Linked DNA regions of Homo sapiens: all the other regions are linked to region 1. Evidence: promoter capture Hi-C in 16 types of primary human blood cells and fetal thymus (Javierre and others, 2016). All regions are on one chromosome and are shown on one strand. Each heading gives the region's core, a stretch centred on a gene start or on the middle of the fragment in contact. The rest is flanking DNA. Distances are from core to core; before and after follow the strand shown.

Region 1 (4,422 bases), core at 552-3,051:
ATTTCAAAAATATGGTGAGTTCTACTGACAAGCATTCTGGTTGTGTCTAAACTAAATCTGCAAGGTCTGAGATAAACATGTGAACAGTTTGAGCAAAAACATTTTTTAAAAATTATATAAATCTTTGACTTCATTTTAGGGATTTCTTATTCAGATATTTATCTGGGAGTCTAATTTTCAGCTAATTGCCATCATCTTTACTTCTGTTGCTTGTAGAATCAGCCCTTGACCAATTGAGGACACGATCTGGTCTCTAAGTGATGACTTTGTAATTAATGCCATAAGCAAGTCTTAGATTTTTAAAGGATTTTTAAAATTATGCTCAAAACTTGGTTTAATTTTTGAGCATGATAAAAAGAATCTAACAATAAATGTTAAGCTCTGAAATATCAATGTCATTCTCTTTCACTAAGCAGAGCCTTCTAAAACAGACTGTCCAGGGACCACAGCTAACTAAAGCAAATTTTATCTGTGTTAGTAATTAAGGAAAATTCACCCAGAAACACAGATTGTGTCAACACAGATAGCAGACAGTTAAACAATGATCTATGGACCACAGACCATGTTATTGAGAAAAAGAGATCTCCGTTGCTTGGGATTAACTACATGGTGTGTAACATCAGGAATTCACTGGACATGTGTATCTTTCAATCAAAACATGGTCACAGCACATTTATTCATTGATTCAGAATTCAGAGGTCATAGTCTTGTCAAAGAGTTATTTCCCAAAACCTGTTCCATACAAGTTGCCTCTTTACGGGTTAGAATCTGGTAAAGAGACATCTTAATGATTGGGTTTGTTTCTCTCTTCTCCTTCCCTGACATTTCCATTCCCTACCCCAGCCCCAACATCCTACTAGTGGATTCCACAGATGGCTCTCACCTCTGCCTCTCGTTGTTTCTCGCTTTTCCACTGTTGCTCCCCCAGGGTCACAGGGTGGGCTAGAAGTGTCTTCAGATCCTCCTGCTTCTCTAAAGTAACAGCAGCTTCATACTCTCCATCTCTGAAATCCTCAGGAAGGAATTCCCCTGCCTCCCCATTGCCATTCTTCTTTCCAGTGACCTATGAGGGAAGAAGATGGCAGCGTCAGAAGCAGCAGCCTCGTCCTGGGTCATTCTTCACAGACAATGCCGCAGGAGGCTCTTGGTCCTTCTCCCCTGGGAACAGCCACCTTTGAGCAGTGCACTCTCAGATCTCAAGCTGCGATGCACACTGCTACAATTGTCCCAGAATTACCTTCAGATGCTTGTCCTACTCTCTTGGTTAAATCAAAGCTTGGGTTAGGTTGACAGATTAAATCTACTTTTAATCTGCTTAATCACATTTCTTTTAGGAAAATCAAAAACCTTCTCTGCTTAATTAAAACTCAACTTTAGGTACTTTTGATGAGTTTCGCCTTATTGTAAAGTTTCCGGGCTTACATTCTTTCAATAACACTTCTTCCCTAAGACATTTTGATAACTACACGTGATTCCACACTGTAGTAATAAAACCAAAGGAGAAGATATTAAATAGGAAATATGCAGAGAATTCATTACTGGTAGCTCCATTTTTTTTTTCCAATTTCACTTGTTTCATCACATCAACCTTTTTCCATATATGACATTTTCAGAGTTCCCTTGCATTACACCTGAAAGCAAAGGGCATTTCAATTTTCAAATAAAAACCAAGATGAACCAGTTTTCATTTTATAAAATTAATGCATCTTACATACCAGTTCCTCTACTTTCAGTACCATCATGTTGGCTGAAGGAGTCTTGTATGTTTTTCTGTCGTGGAAGGAATCCCTGGAGTTGGCCCTGCTGGGCCCCTCCACACCGGTCAGCTTATATAGCTGGGGCCGGGTGAGATAATCTTCCAACCTGGGAACCGAAGTAACACTCCCACCCCCATTAGGAGCCAACTCAGAGGCAGGTGAATTTTCATTCCAGACTCAGTGTCTGGGAAGCTGAAGAGGGAGGGGAGGACAAGCTAACCCTGCTGAATATGTGAATCAGGAAGAAATGTGAGAGGGCCATTCCTTTGGTGGTGATCACATCGCTCAGCAATGCAAGTCATCCTATTTGTCAAGAGTCAGGGGACAGCTGTCTGTTGACATTGCACCACATCACTGCCCTTTTTTTCTTTGTCAGCTTTCATATGACTACCTATCAAGAAAATGTAGATGCCCTACATATCACACCCCCAGTAATATCTTTCTGATAAGCAGACTTATCAACACTTCACTTAGGGGAAACTTGTCCCAGGACATCCTATTCCCTGGGTAAACAGCCTGAGGGGAAGGGATCTGGGCCCTAAAGGCACTTGTCTATATCTGTTTGGAATTCTTTGGAGTGATGTCTGGGGCTAAATAGGCCCCATGACATGCCACCTTACCATCATTATAAGAAATTGAAAGCATTCAGTAATGCACTTTTCTTTTATGATGTCACTGGCCATAATTAGCACATGACATGCTTACCGTGTTCTAAAACAGCATAATAATTGGAGCATTTTTACTTCAAAATGGATCAGAGTGGTCAAGAAATAGAGTAAATGAAACCAGCTATCAGCCGGGTGCAGTGGCTTACACCTGTAATCCCAACATTTTGGGAGGCAGAGACAGGAAGATTGCTTAGCTTAGGAGTTCAATACTAGCCTGGGCAACATGGCAAAATCCCATCTCTACCAAAAATACTATATATATATATGAAAAAAATGAGACCAGTTATTAGCAATGGCAGGACTCTGATTAGGTCATTGAGCTGAAGTTCTCAAATGCTGTGGGGAAAGGAATCACCTGTGGGAGCTTGTCAGAAATACAGATCCCTGGGCCCCACTCCAGGGAATTCTGAGTTGATTTATGGTAACTCGTAGGAATCATCTTGAATTTCAAAGCACCCAGATGATTCTGATGCATCAAGATTTGAGACACGTGGCTGGAGGGATAATGCACTTTGCTTCCGGAAGGGTTGAAAAAGGTCTCTATTTCTGGTTTCTAATCTTTGAGGTGTAAATTATGTAAAAATACTGGGGTCTTTTTATAGTTTCAGGAAAAACTGGGTTTTTTTCAGTAAAAGAAAGGAGAGAAGAATGGGAGAAGGGAATTGTGAATGGAGGGAAGTGTTAATTAGGAAGTTATGTTTGACCTTTGTGTGTCTATTTCTCCCCAAACTCACCCAATCAACAAATGTGGCTGCCATTCTCCTCTTCCCCCTTGAATGCTCAGTCAGTGGATGGTGTTTCTGAAACTTTGAGAAGACATCGACTCCCCACCCCAAGACAAAACATTGACAAAGAGGGACCCTCCCAGTACCTCCTGTATCATATGTTCCGGTCTCCTAATATTCTATCTTAAAAGGGGGTTAATTAAAGGAAATCTCCTGGGCTTTTCTTTGAGATGGACACAGCTATCACTATTTTCTTTTTAATTTTTTCCTTTTCTCTTTATTATTTATTTATTTTTAATATATGGAATGTTTCACAAATTTGTGTGTCATTCTTGCACAGAGTCCATGCTAATCTTCTTTGTATAGCTCCTATTTTAGTATATGTCCTGCTGAAGCAAACAGAGTCATTACTATTTTCATTGGTCTCTTCATCTAAGTCAGAAGTAGTCATGGACACTTTTTCTACCATTTCGTATGCCTTTTTGTTCCAGGCCTGACCCAAACTGAGGGAGGTATTAGGAGGAGAAGTGTTTGGGGGAAGGACTGTGGGATGTTTAAGGGTCTTGGATATGAAATCCCAGAGCTGTCCATGCCCTCGAAGTTGGAGCAAGACTAATGCTCTCATTTTACAGAGAGGATGCTGAGGCAAAGAAACATTAAGTAACTTGCTGCAGATGCACAGCTAGTTGGTGAATGCTAGGTTGAAGAGTCCTGATTCCATCCAACAGAAGCAGACAATCATTGAGCCCAAAAGATTTCCTAGGGCAAGTCTCACCTAGACCCACTCAGGATGCAACCAAAACTGATTAAATGGCTCCTTACTGTTTCAATCACCTCAAAGAATGCAAGTGAAAGTGGGCAGGGAGGCTTACCAAGCCCTTTTCTTTCTCCAGGCATTTAATTATCCCTTGAAACCTAGCTGATTCTATAGAGAGGCTCCAGGAAGTCTTGAAGAAAACTTTGCAGAGGATGACACTTGAAGATGAGTTGATGGAATGGGCTGAACTTAAAGGAGCACGCTGGTGGATGCAAGGATGTCAGGGCTGGTGAAATCACTGCCAGTTCAACCTTTTCCCATGTTGATCCAGCTTGTCATTATAAAACATGAGAGGTACAACTTGAGGATAAGTGGTCAGAAGATGTAAAAAGAATATGACAACAAATAAAGAAAAAAAACATGAGAGAATCTGCTTTTTGAAAAGAGATTCTAGGCACCTTTAGCTCTCTAAAAAGATAAAAACAACAACCATTGTATTTTCAAATCGTTCTTAT
Region 2 (4,980 bases), core at 1,805-4,304, 280 kb after region 1:
TTTTCAGGCAATGAGAAATACTGTGGAGAAAAGTAAACCCAGAGAAGGGGAAGAGAAGTGTCAGATCACGTCATTTTATGTAATTATGTTTCCTTGGATTTCCGTCTCTCTAAATTGAACCCACAGTCCTTACAGTGGCCCAGAAGAGCCTGCGAGACCCATCCTGTCTCCCTGACCTCAGTCCCATCTGCTCATTCTCAACCACACTGGCCCCCTTGCTGGGGGAACCTTGGACATCAGCATCGTTCCTGCTTAGGACACTTTCCTTTCTCTCTGTGTAGTCACTCATCCTTTTGATAACTATAAGACCAACTTCCTTACCTGTTTTGTGGTCTTTACCCAGATGCCATCTTCTCACTAATGCCTTTGCTGACACCTTGTTTTAAATTTCAGTCACCCTCCTTACCTACCCCTAGTACCCCTACTCTCCTGGAGGTCACCCCAAACCACTATTTCAGCATGACCATTGGCAAAGCAGCATCACTGGCTTTCTCTCTAGAAGGCAGACCTGCCTACGGGCTGCAGAGTTCAAGCTTGTCTCTGTCCTTCGATCTTCTTGGGAGTTTTCTGTAAAGGCCCTGATTAGTGGCAGCACCATGGGAATCTCCCTGGCCTATTCAGTAGCATTGAATCAATCCTGAGTTTAATTAGCAGCAATTGCCAGGATGACGTTTTGGCCTTGTCATACCACGGGGCAGTACCTCTTAAGGATTGGATGTAGTTTTGTGCAATGAAGAGCCCTTCTTCAGATGGGTTATTTCTACCCCATGGTCTTTGGCTGAGTGTGTTTCGTATTAGTCTTCTTCCTTTTCTTGCCAGGCCATTCTTGTTCTCCTCCTCTCTCAGATGTTCTTCTCTTTCATCACCCTCTGTGATTGCCTCATCTGAGTTCTTAGCTTTCAGTTTCACTGGCCATGCTGACCTTTTATGTATTTATTGTTTTTGTTCAGAAACTGAAACTGCATCACATACATGCTGGTTTGTATCTGTCTCTCCCATTTTATTAAAAGCCTAGTTTTTTCTTCTGTGTCTCTACCACTTTCTGGGTCTTACAGCATTCAAGGGATCATCCCTGCTTCCACAAGCAAAGTTCCAGAGTCTGTGAATTTTATGACATAATAAACAAGTAGAAAATGTACTTGTCACAGGTTGGGTTCCCTGGGAAGCTGACTCCCAGGTGTAGTTTTGTATCCAGGATGTTTATTAGGGAATGCCCTTTGAAGGGTGGGAAGGCAGCAAGGGGGGCAGAAAAGGAGTTGAGCTGTAGAGCCAGCATGGCAGGAGCTCTGGAACTAGAATGACTCCTCTGAGTTGTCTTGACTTGGGCCAAGATGGCCAGGCCTTTATACTCCAGCATCCCTCAGTCCTTGCATCCTTGGGAAAGTGACCTTGGGCAAGGAGGATCTTTGCAGCTGAGGACATGCCTGCAAGAGGCCAACAACATCCCCATCAAGTGCAGCCCAAAGGCTTCTCTGAAGAGGGATCTGATCTCTGCTTCCCAGCATCTTCCACATTAATGTACGTGAAATTCAGCCACGGCTCCAAAATATGATGCAGTATTTTAGTTAAGAAGTAACATTCAAGGCTAGTTTTAGTTTAATACTGAAATTTGATTGAGTTCATTGAAATCCTAGGATGTTAGAGTCCAAAGAGGCCATAAAAATCCTTTATGCAACCCTCTTGTTTGACAGATAGGGAAGTGGAGTAAATAAACAAAGGAGAATAAATTTTAGTGTGGTTTCCCCAGAAACAGACCCCAAGACAAGAATTTGAGAGTAAGTGGTTTAGTTGAGAGGTTCTCCCAAGAAATATCAACAGGAAAGTAGAGAAGTGGGACAGGGAGGAAAAAGAAAGCAATAAAGGGTATAGTTTCAAGAGAATTACTGCTGTGGGCAACTGGAGCTCAATCCGTTTAAGGAACTCTAGGAACTAGTCTACACGCTTCAGGCTATCCTACCCAAAGGACAGGGAAATTGGGTTACTTGCCCATCAACTATCCATCCTCCTTGACTGAGGGCTGTTTCCTGGAGATGCTAACTTCCCTGCATTTTTGCCTCACTGTGGGAGAGGGCCCAGCCTGCTCCCAGAGCCAGAATAAAAGCCACAGGTGTTCAAGAAGGCTGCCTTCAGCATGTAGAGATGAGCGTGGAGGAGATAAGAGGGAGGAGGAGACAGTGACAGTGTCTGCTATAGGGGATTGCCTGAAACTGAACCAGAACTCTGGTATCCTGACTACTGACCAGGGTTCTTTATGCTGATTATTAATATCTTCCTACTCGGTGCCCAAAATTGTTCAACTAATCTAGTTAAGAGAGAGTGAGGGTATAGAAAGAACAGGGGATGTAGCCCCTTTCTGGGAAGTGCGCATATATGTTTGAAAGAAGAAGAGAAGATTTTATAAGCATTAATATCAACAGGTATGGATGAGATTGCATTGAAAGCTGTGCATTGCATTTGTCATTGTTGAGGTGCTGCTATAAGGGACTGTGCCAGAAGGGAAGGTGCTGTTTGTTTTGTTTTGTTTTTAAGATATTGAGTCTTGAACACAGTCTCAGTGGGAGATTTGAACATAATTGGCAGAGGCTGAGAGGCAGGATTGTGTACTGGTGAAGAGTTGGGGGCCTTTCTAGTGGGCAATCTAGTTTATCCTATATTCATCACTTTGTGGTCATTGGACAGTGGGCAAATTAAGCTTTGGTTTCTTCCTGTATACGGTGGGGCCAATTATAGAACCCAATTCATAAGGGTGTTGAGAGCATTCAATGAAGTAATTGATGTAAAAATATTAACCTAGAGCTTGCTGTGTAGGAGGTTGATAACATTAGCTGTGTTCGTGATTACTGTTGACAGAGGGAAGTGGAAAGGGGGAGGGTCAGGTGGGAGAATGGTCAGAGCTTGGGCAAGCACAAGATTCAAGAGGCAAATGGAAAAATAGTGTGAAGTGGAACTCCTGAGACACCAGGGAGGTGATGGGGAAAGTTTTATAAAAGTGAGAAGAGCTGCCCACTTAGACCACATTTTCATGGGAGCTGTCTTAGTTTGTTTTCTGTTGCTACAGCTGAATACCTGAGACTGGGCAATTTATAAAGGAAAGAAATGTATTGCTTACGTATCTGGAGGCTGGGACATCCAAGGGTGAGGTATCTGGTGAGGGCCTTCTTGCCGGTGGAGACCCTCTGCAACCTTCTGAGCTGGGCATCACATGGTGAGGGGCTGAGTGTGTCAGCTCAGGTCTCTCTTCATGTAAAGCCACTAGTCCTATCATGGTCCCCCCAGTGACATTACTAATCTTAATTACCTCCCAAAGCCCCACCTCTAAATGCCATCAACGTATGAATTTGAAGATTAAGTTATCAGCACATGAAATTTGGGGAACTCATTCAAATCATAAACAGGAGCTTAGGTCCCATCAAAGTGAAAGCTTACCAGGAAGCCCAATGTGTAAAAAAAATACGTAAACAGAGTTATGTGTTTGAAGGTGGAGTGGAGAACTATCTTCTCCCCTCCTCCCTCCACCCACAGCCCCTGAGGGAATTCTGAGAAACCCCAAGGCAGCAAGAACAAAAACAATGTCTGCAGAAAGATTTTTTAACACTACTGTAACACCTCATTTGTTCTGTATTGAGTTCATTTTCCAGAAAACCTTTTTTTTTTTTTTTTAAGAAACCCATCTTGGATGAAATTTTGTTTAAGTGTGTTACTTTTTTGCCTTCTTAACAAGGCTGAATGAAAACCTTTTAATCTGTTCTTGATGACTTTTGATCATAGTGATGAACATTTAGTTAAGGTTCTGTGCTTTAATGTGGTGATTTCCAACCTCAGAGTTTCTGAAGTGTTAGGACTGTTTACTGGCACTATGCTTTTGAAATTGTTAGAAGAAGCAGGGTGGCATCAAGGGAGGGTCCTGGACTTGGGAGCTACACTGTCCAGGATTATATCCAAGCCTTGCATTTTATTAGCATTGTGACCAGGTGTAACCACTGTTTGCCTCAATTTCTTCTTTCCCAAATTGAGAAGAATAATTGTACTCACCCCCTAGGATTATTGTGAGAAATAAATAAGTTTTTATATGTTCACTGCTTAGAACCATGCCTTCGTATAAAATGTGCTGTATAAGTGCTATGATGATGATGGTCGATGTATCTGTTTTTATGGTTCTTCTGTCTTTTTTGATGTAGTATGGTGGTTAAGCCTATAGACTCTGAAGCAAAATAACCTGGATTTGAATCCACCACCGTTGTGATCTGATTGTTTTAAGCTGATTAATTTTTGTGAACCTAATGATTTCAGTAAAACCCACCATTGTGACCTTGAGAGAGTTAATTTAATTCCCTGTGATTCAGTTTATTCTTCTGAAAAATGAGGCAAATAATACAAAGTAGTTAACAGGATTGTTGTGAGGATTAAATAGGATAAATTTGTAAGCTCTTAGCACAGTATTTGGCACATAGTGAGTAGTCATTGCATAGTAGTCATCGTTACTGTTAATTATTAAGAGTCTAAATGAGGGATACTGTAATATAATATACAGCCAGAAGTTGTTACTATATTTGACTCCTTAGAAGCCTTGAAAACTTCCTTCTTGTACTTAATTGGTTTCAGTAAATAGAGGTTATTAACTAATTATTGATCTTAAATAGTAAGTTATTTTCAATGTGCTTCTTAATGTTGGGGCAAGGGGTAGTTAGGCGAAAAGATTGGCCATTTATGCTATATAATATGCTTACTATCAAACTGTGACTCAACTTTTAGATGTATTTATGTTGAAGGAGTTAGATCATTCTTTGCTTAAAAGGTTGACATGATTAATGTTCAGATGAGGGGATATTTTCAAAGGAAGAAAAACAGTAAAGAAATGTGTTTGTGAAAATGACTAAAAACAATACAGGGTAAGCAGCAAATTTTCTGATGCAGAATACAGGCCAAACATGATTTAAAAAAGCAAGAAAGCAAACAAACAAAAATGGTGACTTTGCAGCC
Region 3 (4,653 bases), core at 1,704-4,203, 350 kb after region 1:
AAAGTCTGATGGACCAGAGCTTGGGGACTCTTTGGAGAGAAAGGAGAAGGTTGCTAAAAGAGAGCCGAGCTGAGCCCGCCTTACAGCATGTTGATGCACACTGTACCTAAAATCAAGGACTGACTGCTAGAGAAAAAAATTACTAAAGTATTTCGGGAAAATAGAAAATTCCTTAAATTTTATTTAAAAGGCTACAAATATATTTGTTTTAATCAATGCTTATTTAAATCTTTCAAAGTATATCTTTTAAAAACCTACTTTGCTATGTTAGAAATATCCTGGTTAATTTGTACCTTATATTTTTTATGTATTTAATTTTTTCCATTTTGAAAAGTATGCAATGTTGAATTCATATATGCATAATTTTAAAGTATACATTTTATGTTTTGTAGTCCAATTACAATTAAAATTACATTTAATAAGAGTTTAGCATAGTATTTAAGAATTAGGATTTGGGAATGATTTTTTTAAATGTGAATAAACTGTTTTAAAGTAGTAGGTTTACAAATGAATCTACTCAATAGTTTTAAAGTGTGTTCACTCATTGCTTTACTCATAAAACATCTGATGGCTGATATATGCCAGTTCTGGGCCTTAGCTATTAAGACCACAAATGTGACTAAAATATAGATCTAATGCTATATATATATATAATCTAATATATATATAATCAGCAATATAAAGCAACATAAAGAACCTACTATAAAACAGAAAATAGATGCCTTACAGGTTGAGCGGAGTTCCACGTCCCTCCCAGAGCTCTGATTTCCTTGAACAGTATTACTTTCAGGGGAAGTTGAAGAAGAGATCTAGGAGACAGTGATCAGAGGAAGGGATGGAAGAAAGAGGATGTCCCTCGTGTATGCAAGAAGTGAGATTTTCCCAGGAAATAGTATTTGTAAAGGATATGGAAAGGAGAGGCCACCATTTTTGCATTTGCAGAATATTAAACAAAACTCATCTAGATGCTAAAATTACTTCAAGCTAAATTTTACCAGTTACTAAGTTATTAAAATCTTTTTTTCAAAAACAACCACCATTTTTTTGGAAAGTGTTTATTTACCATTAATCATGTTGACTCTTGTGTTTGACGTTAAACTATTTTAAATAATCAATTTTAAATATGTGTCCAGTTGTGGATGCCTCTTATCTGATGAGTTCATCTCCTCCGCAGTTTCGGTGTCTGAACTGCTCAGCTTCGCAAGTCTGCTCTCAGGATGGCCCTTTGTATCAGGTAAGAGGCACTCACGACTGTACATATGACCATCATGACACCATGGCGGTGAGCACATTCATCCCAAACTCAATTCCTAAGACATTTAACTTTGTAAAACTGTTACTGGAGCTACAAAAACTTATCTTTTCAACTTATATACCCAAGATTTCCCATTATTTTAGTTCTCCTGAATTATCTATTTAATTTTACTGAACTAAAAAATTAGAAATGTTAAGGCTATTACTTATGAATCAGGAATTTTTAATAATTACTACTTTCAGTCCTTGAGAAATCTCTACTCCATATTGGATTTTGAGACGTTACTTTCTTTGTATGAATGTTATTTTTCAGTGAATCATTCAACCACAAGTGAAATATAAAATGCCAAATTAGGTGAAGCTAAATAACAGCAACAGCTGATTCTAATTATGAGCTTGCTTATTAGCCCTTCCCTAGTACTTTACTTGAGTTACCTCTTTAAAAATGATAGTGAGCTAATTTAGTAATGCACTAAGAAAAGTTGAACATGTGTCTGAGGAAAGTTTATCTGATAAAGATACATTTTAAAAATTTGGGAAACAGACAAGGGTATAGTAAAGATTATTGTTGGGTACAGATGTGATTGATGATCAGCCTTAACCCTGTGAATTAATCATACCATTTCTTTAAAATATCCATTGTTGGGCCAGGCATAGTGGCTCATGCCTGTAATCCCAGTGCTTTGGGAGGCTGAGGATGTAGGATTGCTTGAGGCCAGGAGTTTGAGACCAGTCTGGGCAATATAGCAAGACAAAAAAAAATTATTTTTTTAGGCCAGACACGGTGGCTCACCTCTGTAATCTCAGCATTTTGGGAGACTGAGGCGGGCAGATCTCTTGAGTCCAGGAGTTTGAGACCAGCCTTGACAACATGGTGAAACCCTATCTCTACAAAAAATACAAAAATTAGCCGGGTGTGGTGGCACACCCCTGTAGTCCCAGCTACTAAGGAGGTTGAGGCGGGAGGGTCGCTTGAGCCCAGGAAATGGAGGTTGCAGTGAACTGAGATTGTGCCACTGCATTCCAGCCTGGGTGACAGAGCAAGACTCTGTTTCAGACAAACAAATAAATAATAAAATAATAAAATCCACCGTTCTTTTATTTCAATAATTAAATGAGTTTTCATCTTTATTTCCTTGGAGCCAGGGAGAAAGGATAATTGTAATTACATAACAAACTTAACTGGCATACTTACCTCCAGTGTTACAGTTTTGGAGTTGGGACAAATGAATGTATGTTAAGCATTAAAAGAATCACTTGAAATTGCTAATTGAAAATGTTTAATTAGCAGTTTATCTAGAATTTTCTTCAGCCTTTTGTCAGTGCTATGATATGGGAATTCTCGTGCCTTCATTAAAATGTGTGCTTTTTGATACATACTCTTTTAAGTCCTAGCTTTTCAGCAATCTAGTAAGTAAATTTAACATCTCTGAAGGCCAAGTCTGAGGGAGAAAGATCATTCTTCTCTCTATGCAGATAAGGGTCTGGGGTAAATAATTTAACTGAGCTGGTGAGATTTGTGTATATCCGAGGTGTATAGATGTTTCAGCTGCTTTAGCCTCATGGCTGATTTGGGAATGCTGAATTGTAACGATAACACTGCCTGTAGCTATAACCTGTGCAATATGTGTCTTTCTGCTTTTACTCTTGGTGTTGATGCCTATGTATTTCCTTAGAAATGAAGATGTCCTTAAACCATGATCCAAAGTATTAGAGAAAAACTGGAGTGAGACCAAATTTCTAAATCCATACAAATTTCCTCTTCTTCCTTCAACACCTCATTAATGGCTCATTAATAGTCTTCATTAATAGTCCTGTAAGGAAATTGAACTTGTAGCTAATAGGATGCACCGTTAACTTCCTGAAAGGATAACTAAATGGTTTTATGTTCTGAATTCTCTCTAATTTTCAAGGAATATATCATTCCTATGCTGTATCTATTGTTAATCATTAGAAAAGGTGGAATCCTTCCACTTTGCCATTCTTAATAGCAAAAACTGACAGAGAACCCACAATTAGAAAACTGGTACCAAATCTGATTTTGAATATAAGTAGATGATAAATAATACACTAATATAGTGTATTATAATAGTGTATAATATAGTGTATATTATATAGTGTATAATATAAAATATTTTATACATTTTATATATTTTATACATATATACTCTAGGTTAAAAATCATCAGTAGATACTGAAAAGGTGTTTGATAAAATTCAATGTGAAGTCCTGATGTTTTCCTATTGAAAAATTTTTCAAAACAACAGAAAATTGAAATAATTATACAAAGGAATATTCTTTATGATTACCTAGATTCATCAATTAACATTTTGCCACATTTTTTGCCTCCTCTTCCCCTCTCTTTCTCTTCTCATCTCCTTATTAATCAATCTGTGTATGTATATATATATGTAATAGTACATTACATTTTATAGAGATGCCAGTTCACCCCACAATTAAATTATAAAGTTAAATGTAATTCCAAACACACTTTTACCAGATCTTTGTTTAACTTGACAAAGTCAGTCATTCTAAAGCTCATAAGGAAATATCAGCAGGTGCTTCGATCAGTCATGTTTTTACAAAGAGTAATGAGAGGGAATGTGTACTACCACATACTAAAACATATTTTAAAGCTGAAGTAATTAAAATAAGGTCTTGCCTTAAACATAGACATATGAATAAAAAGAATAGCTCAGCAACAGACCCTAGTATGTATGAGTCTGTAAAGAGGGTATTTCAAATTAATGCAGTAAAATGATTAATTTAACAAATACCTATTGAGTATTATGCATTGGGCAGTCTTCTAGGCCTTCGAGGTTACAGAAGTAAAAATGAGCACAAATCTTTTCTTTCATGGAACTTACACTAATGATGGTAACAGACAAAAAATAAACAGGTTAAAATTTATAGTGTTAGAAGAAAAAGTAAAATAGATAAATAGAATAGTTTTAATAAGATAGCCAAGAGAAGCCCTCTTTGAGGTGGTGGATTGTTGATCAAAAGAAATTGAGAGACGTTGCTATGTGAATATCTGAGGTAGAGCACTGAAGCCTGAGGCAACACACTGCAAAGGCCCTGAGAATTGATTATGTCTGGTTATTTGAGAATTGCAAGGAGGCCAGTGGGGCTGGAGCACGACAGTGCAGATCTAGTAGGGCTTATTTTTAATTAATTATACTGAGACTGGGTGGGGAATTCAATTCTACCTCACATTTTATATCAGTATAGGTTTATGATGGCTTAAAATGGTAAATATTTTAAATGATACTATAAAAGATCAAGAAGAAAATATAGTTGAAGAACTGATCTCAGAGTGGGGATGGCCTTTCACGTTGTACCTAAAAAAATTGAATTGACTATTAATATTAAAAGCACATGGCAAAAATATCATAAAAT
Region 4 (5,100 bases), core at 1,392-3,891, 490 kb after region 1:
TGAGTTCTCTAACCCTCACTCCCACCCTGCCAAACCCTATTCCCCATAGGTATAATTAATGAGCTCAGGTCTTCCATCTGGACTTAGAAACATGAAATGCTTCTTCTGCCTCGCTCCTAGTTTTTCCAAAGCGAATGAGTTTATACTTGGATACCCTCACTGTTGCACGTCTGACACTTGGCATAGCTAAAAAGCATCTTCTCCACACCTCTGTACAGAATGGCCAGAGCTCTCTGTATGTCCTGCTTTACAACACTCTCTTCTCCCACCTGGGTCTCCAGAAGCACACTGATGGCAGTTGGGAATGTGTCTCTCAAGCACACCACGAGTTCCCCCAGAGCTATAATTCTACAGCTTTCCAGCAGGCCCCATTCCCATTCTCCAGCCCCCTCCTGGACTATGTATGAGGGAGGGATGAGGTGGTGGATTGAGGACATTTATTTAATAAGAAGTCAAAGGAAACATGAACAAATTATCATTTTTTACATGGAACTCACAAGCTAATTAATCAGAGAATTTGTTAAGAAATGGGTTATCTACTCTGGTGCAGTAGCAGAAATTAACATTTTTGACTTGCCTTGTTTTGCCAATATTTAAGCAGTTTGTTCTATTGAATGTGACTACATGTACAGACACACTTTTATTTAGTCTCACACATGAAAAAAGAAAGCAGAAGGCCTGTTATCCAAGTGGTTTCTCATCCAAACATTTTTATAGCAAATTACTAAATCTAGTTGAAAACAATAGGAAAGAGGATACTTTTCCCTCTAGTATTTGTTCTATCAACCTAGACTTAGCACAGAATATCTGAAATTGCAGCTAAAATAAAGGCTTCATTTTATAAAATAACATTTGAGTTGTTCCTGTATCCATGATCAGCATACAGACCTGCTAAAAGCAGAAAATAATGTTATGTTCCTCTCTATGGGATGAGTATTTCAGTAGTTTTAAGGAAAGAAAATCCTGAAAAAGAATTTAGAAAAATATTAATAGAAAGGAGGAGGATGCTTCAAAGTAATGCCGACATACATCATTTTCCCTCCAAGGCTATTAGCACTGAAATACTTTTTGCTGACTATATGGCACTTATTCTATACCTTTTGTTAATTAACAAGTAAATAGGTGGCAACAGCAACTATATTAAAGTAGAAAGCCTTTCTATAAATGAAAGTCAGAATTCAAAATTTAGAAGGCAACATTGTTTGCTTCAGATCTACTTGTTACAAATTGTGGGTTTGAAAACATGCAACCTTATCTCATGATGCACCATAACTAGTATTTAGTTATACTAATAACTCCAAATTATGTAAACAATAGATACCCCGAAATCATATTTGGGTTTGTTTCAGAGATATTTTTGGTTCTTATATTTGGACTTAGGTACTCTTGATCTAAAAATTCACTCAACCTCCAATAAAATAATGAAGGCACAGATAAAAAATCTGATAGAGCTGAATATCGAAATTCCTTGCTTTTAACAGGCGATACAGCGCATTCTTACTCTCTTTTCTCCTAGATCAGCAGGTGTCCCCGCCGCTCCAGTAGACTGAGAAAAAGGAAAAGGAGGGGGCGACAAGAAAGGAAAGGAAATTGTCTAGGTGTCCTGGTGGTGGAGGTGGGGGGTATTTTAATTTCATAATTAAAAGCTCTCTTCTTCGGCTTTCAAGTTTTTACTCCTATTTGTAATGATTTGATTGAGGACTGTGCAGCAGAGTTTGGGTATGTACATCTCTAACATAAACGGAAAGGAACAAGGAAGGGACGGATAGGAGACAGCAAAGGGTTGCGGGGAGAGAGCAAAACGTAGGCGCGTGGGGACGGGAAGGGAGAGGCGGATTTGGCAGTCAAAGAGGGACGAGAGGAACAGGAATGGAAAGTGTGGACTGGCCGTCCAATCCTATGGGGGAAGGGGAAAGGGGGGGCCCACCACGTCGCACTCCTCCCCACCTCCAGGCTTTTCCTGTGTAGGCTGAAGCCATCCAGGCGTGTACAAAAGAGTCGGTTGCTGAGCCAGGAAGGCTGTCTCCCCGGGCTGCGCAAGCTCCGGGCCGCCTCTCCTGGGCTCAGGAGGGCGGGCAAGGATAAGAAGGCAGAAGCCCCAAGGCGGACAGCTTTGTGGGCGCCTGGAAGAAGGCGAAAGGCCACCAGCCCAGACCCCGAGGGCGCTTGCCCGCGGGACTCGGCGCCGCAGGCCAGGGCCGTCCGTGAAGGGTAGTCTGTGCCTACGTCCTGCCCTACTGGTACCACTCGGACACTCTATCCCCGTCCGACCCTTTGCAGGGCTCGACTTGTCTCCCCGACTGCCCGTCCTTAGTCCAGGTTCTCCTGCGCGGCCCGGGTGCGGGGTCTCCTCGTCATCTCGGGCGACACTCTGCAAACAATATGGCGGTCGGGCGTCGACCGTGGCGCCTTCTCTCCGGGCCCTCGGGGTTGACGAGGGGGACTACCGCCGGCGCTCCCGACCCGCGACGCGCGAGCCCCGGGCGGGCGGGGGAGGCGAGAGCAAGAAACCTGTGGGACCTGTGGGGAGCCGCGTCCGCGGGGCTGGCGCGCGCGGGGGCGGCCTCGGGCTCGCGCGCAAAGGCGCGGGCGCGGGCGGGGGCGGAGTGGCGGCGGCAGCGGCGGCTAGAAGCGGCAGCCCAGAGCCCTCTCGCGGCCGCGGCGGCAGCAGCAGCGCCAGCCCCAGCAACACTGAGGCCGCCGCCGCCGCCTGGCGCTCCCGCCGCCCGGCCCGACATGAGTGAGGCGGTTCGGGTACCCTCGCCCGCCACTCCGCTGGTGGTGGCGGCGCCCGCGCCTGAGGAGAGGAAAGGGAAGGAGTCAGAGCGCGAGAAGCTGCCGCCCATCGTATCGGCGGGCGCCGGCGCGACCGCGGTAGGTGGTGGGCCGGGGCCGTCTGGCGCCCCGGACGGCGGGAGTTGGGAGGGACGGCGGCCGGGCGAGGGCCGTCAGGAGGCCTGCGTTTACCCTGGGCACGCCCTGGCACTCCAGGGAGACGCACTCAGGCCGCCCTTCCTTGGGCAGAAATAAAAGAGTTGTGCCTCGTGGACAGCCCCGAACACTTCGCGAGGTACACCTACCACCCTCGGGAAATGTTGGGGGTGGTCGGTTCCGCTGGATGTTTGGGTTATTTTCTGGGGCTTGGGCCCCCACTTTCTCTAAGAGAATGACCTGCATCTTGAGTCGGCATGATCTGTTGGATGAGCATAGGTGTCAGCAGGCGGGAGTGGGTTTTCCACGGAGGTGCCTGCCTGCCTGCCTGCCTTGGAGGCGCGCAGATTTTTGTCCTTTTCTTCGCTTTTCTTTCCCTTCCCCCTTCAGATTAAACAGGCTCTGCGGCGAGTTTCCACTTAATTGTGACCTTTCCGTTGCTGTCAGTGTAGTGGGAGGTAGATGCATCAGTGATGGTTTTATTTTTCATATGGTACAGACATGTGACTCAGGTGGGGGGAGGCTTTTTGAACCTTTTATTTAAACCCAAGTTATCTAAGCTTGACAGGGATGATTTCCCAGCTGTATCTTCGTAAGGGTTATTTGGAGAGCGCTGTCAGGCTTCAAACTACATATTGCCAGATGATGTCATGGGACAGCCCCCTCCCCCTCTTTCCCTATTTTTACTGGTGGTTGTGACTGGTTAATTTGAAGCACAATTTAAAAAAAAACCTCGGATTTTGCAATTTTTTATTTTGACATAATATTTAAGTACTTTTTGAAAGTTTGCTTTGATATATTTAAAGATCATGACTTGTCATGCAGCTGTGTGTGACAAAATAGTAAAAGTTTAGTGAACATTATACATTTTCTTTATTCCTACTTGCGGTTCATTTCTTAAAACCTCCCTCTTAAATGACTAAGAACTTACTAAAATAGCTCACTCTTCGTTAAGTACTGTATTGGTGTTAGGAATAATTTTCGGATTCGGTAGGTTTTTCAAAAATGTCTGAGGGCCCTGATAACTGGAAATTGTTAAAACAAGCTCTTTAAATCAATGCAGCAAATTGCGAACAGTAATGATACACGTTTAAAAGCGTAGCTACAATTGATTGGTAGATTGGAGCTGGGGTTAGGGATTACCCTAGAAAATGCTTTGAAGGAATTTGTCACCCAGCTGCTTGGAGACCTGGTTCCTGCTGCTGGTACCCTAGGTTTTCAGATTTTATATAGGAAGTCTTTAACTCACAGAATTCCAGCAGTTCATTTCTAAGTTGGTTGTTTAAAACAGTAAATGTATGTACTTATAGAAACAGTTAAATGAGTGGGTTTAGGTCCTCAAGCAAACGCTCTCCCAAAAACCTATTCATCTCATAACTGAAAAATTGCCGTTTTGGAATTTGCAAGTGTGGATACAAGTCTACAGTCTGCTTTGGGATTTCAAGTTTTTCAGATTTTAGAAAGGTAATTCGGTACATATATCATATATTATTTAATACCCACAGTAAGGTCCTAGCCAGTTCTCTCTAATCAACCATCTTAATAACTGTAATGAAATTATGTGTTCATGCTAAAGGGAAAAAGTCAGTAGCGTCATGTCATTTCAGATTAGGTGCATGTTTTTGCCACCAAATGAGTTGCAAAGACACTTCAGTTTCAAGAATTTATAGGACTTTGAAATTGTAAATAGAGGATTATGGACTTGTACTACTAGACAAAGAGAAGAATATATTCAAGAAAAAAATTTAAATCTTGAATTAAACTTTGAAAAGGTATGAGTTGGAATAGAAGAGGATAAGGATAAATATACAAAACTTGAGGGTTTTTTTTTTTTCTTTTTGAGACGGAGTCTTGCTCTGTCGCCAGGCTGAAGTGCAGTAGCCTGATCTCGGCTCACTGCAATCTCTGCCTCTCGTGTTCAAGCCATTCTCCTGCCTCAGCCTTGCTTGTGCCTTATAAAGTCTTTCAGAGTCAGTACCATTGATTATTTATTTTTTAAAAAAAAAAACAATTTATGACAGGATCTGTGGCAGAATGTGTGTGTGTGTGTGTGTGTGTGTGTATTTGTCAAAGAGAGACTTCAAAGCTAGAATTCAGAGCTAATAGCAGTGAAAAGCTTAAGTGTAGAAAATCTATGCTTGGTCCTTAGTCCATCCAAAGGATAAGAAA

The links. The method cuts DNA at HindIII sites, captures the fragments that hold promoters and counts their contacts. A CHiCAGO score of 5 or more calls a contact.
Region 2: a contact is called between a fragment that was not itself captured here and the fragment with the promoter of ANKRD1 in region 1, in 1 of 17 cell types (fetal thymus). The highest score is 6.1, in fetal thymus.
Region 3: a contact is called between a fragment that was not itself captured here and the fragment with the promoter of ANKRD1 in region 1, in 1 of 17 cell types (neutrophils). The highest score is 7.0, in neutrophils.
Region 4: the fragment with the promoter of HECTD2 here is called in contact with the fragment with the promoter of ANKRD1 in region 1 in 1 of 17 cell types (M1 macrophages); the score reaches 6.3 in M1 macrophages.

Annotation. Positions count from the first base shown.
Region 1 is chr10:90,919,286-90,923,707 of GRCh38, forward strand. ANKRD1 (ankyrin repeat domain 1) reads right to left here and starts at 1,802. Exons shown (of 9, transcript NM_014391.3): 1 at 1,716-1,802; 2 at 884-1,063. The coding sequence starts at 1,742. It also overlaps the pseudogene RNU6-740P. The HindIII fragment of the contact is 5,392 bases long and covers 1,274-4,422 here.
Region 2 is chr10:91,198,080-91,203,059 of GRCh38, forward strand. LOC124902480 (a long non-coding RNA gene) reads right to left here and starts at 399. Exons shown (of 3, transcript XR_007062240.1): 1 at 322-399. It also overlaps a transcript of PCGF5 not described here. The HindIII fragment of the contact is 729 bases long and covers 2,691-3,419 here.
Region 3 is chr10:91,270,464-91,275,116 of GRCh38, forward strand. PCGF5 (polycomb group ring finger 5) reads left to right here. Exons shown (of 10, transcript NM_032373.5): 9 at 1,175-1,234. Among named protein-coding and RNA genes, the nearest start is that of PCGF5, 52 kb to the left of the region's middle. The HindIII fragment of the contact is 8,912 bases long and covers 1-4,653 here.
Region 4 is chr10:91,407,703-91,412,802 of GRCh38, forward strand. It overlaps HECTD2 (HECT domain E3 ubiquitin protein ligase 2), which reads left to right and starts at 2,642. Exons shown (of 21, transcript NM_182765.6): 1 at 2,642-2,874. The coding sequence starts at 2,737. All of the region lies in intron 3 of HECTD2-AS1 (HECTD2 antisense RNA 1), which reads right to left. RefSeq lists an enhancer at 2,049-2,258 and a silencer at 2,409-2,998. The HindIII fragment of the contact is 4,522 bases long and covers 1-3,489 here.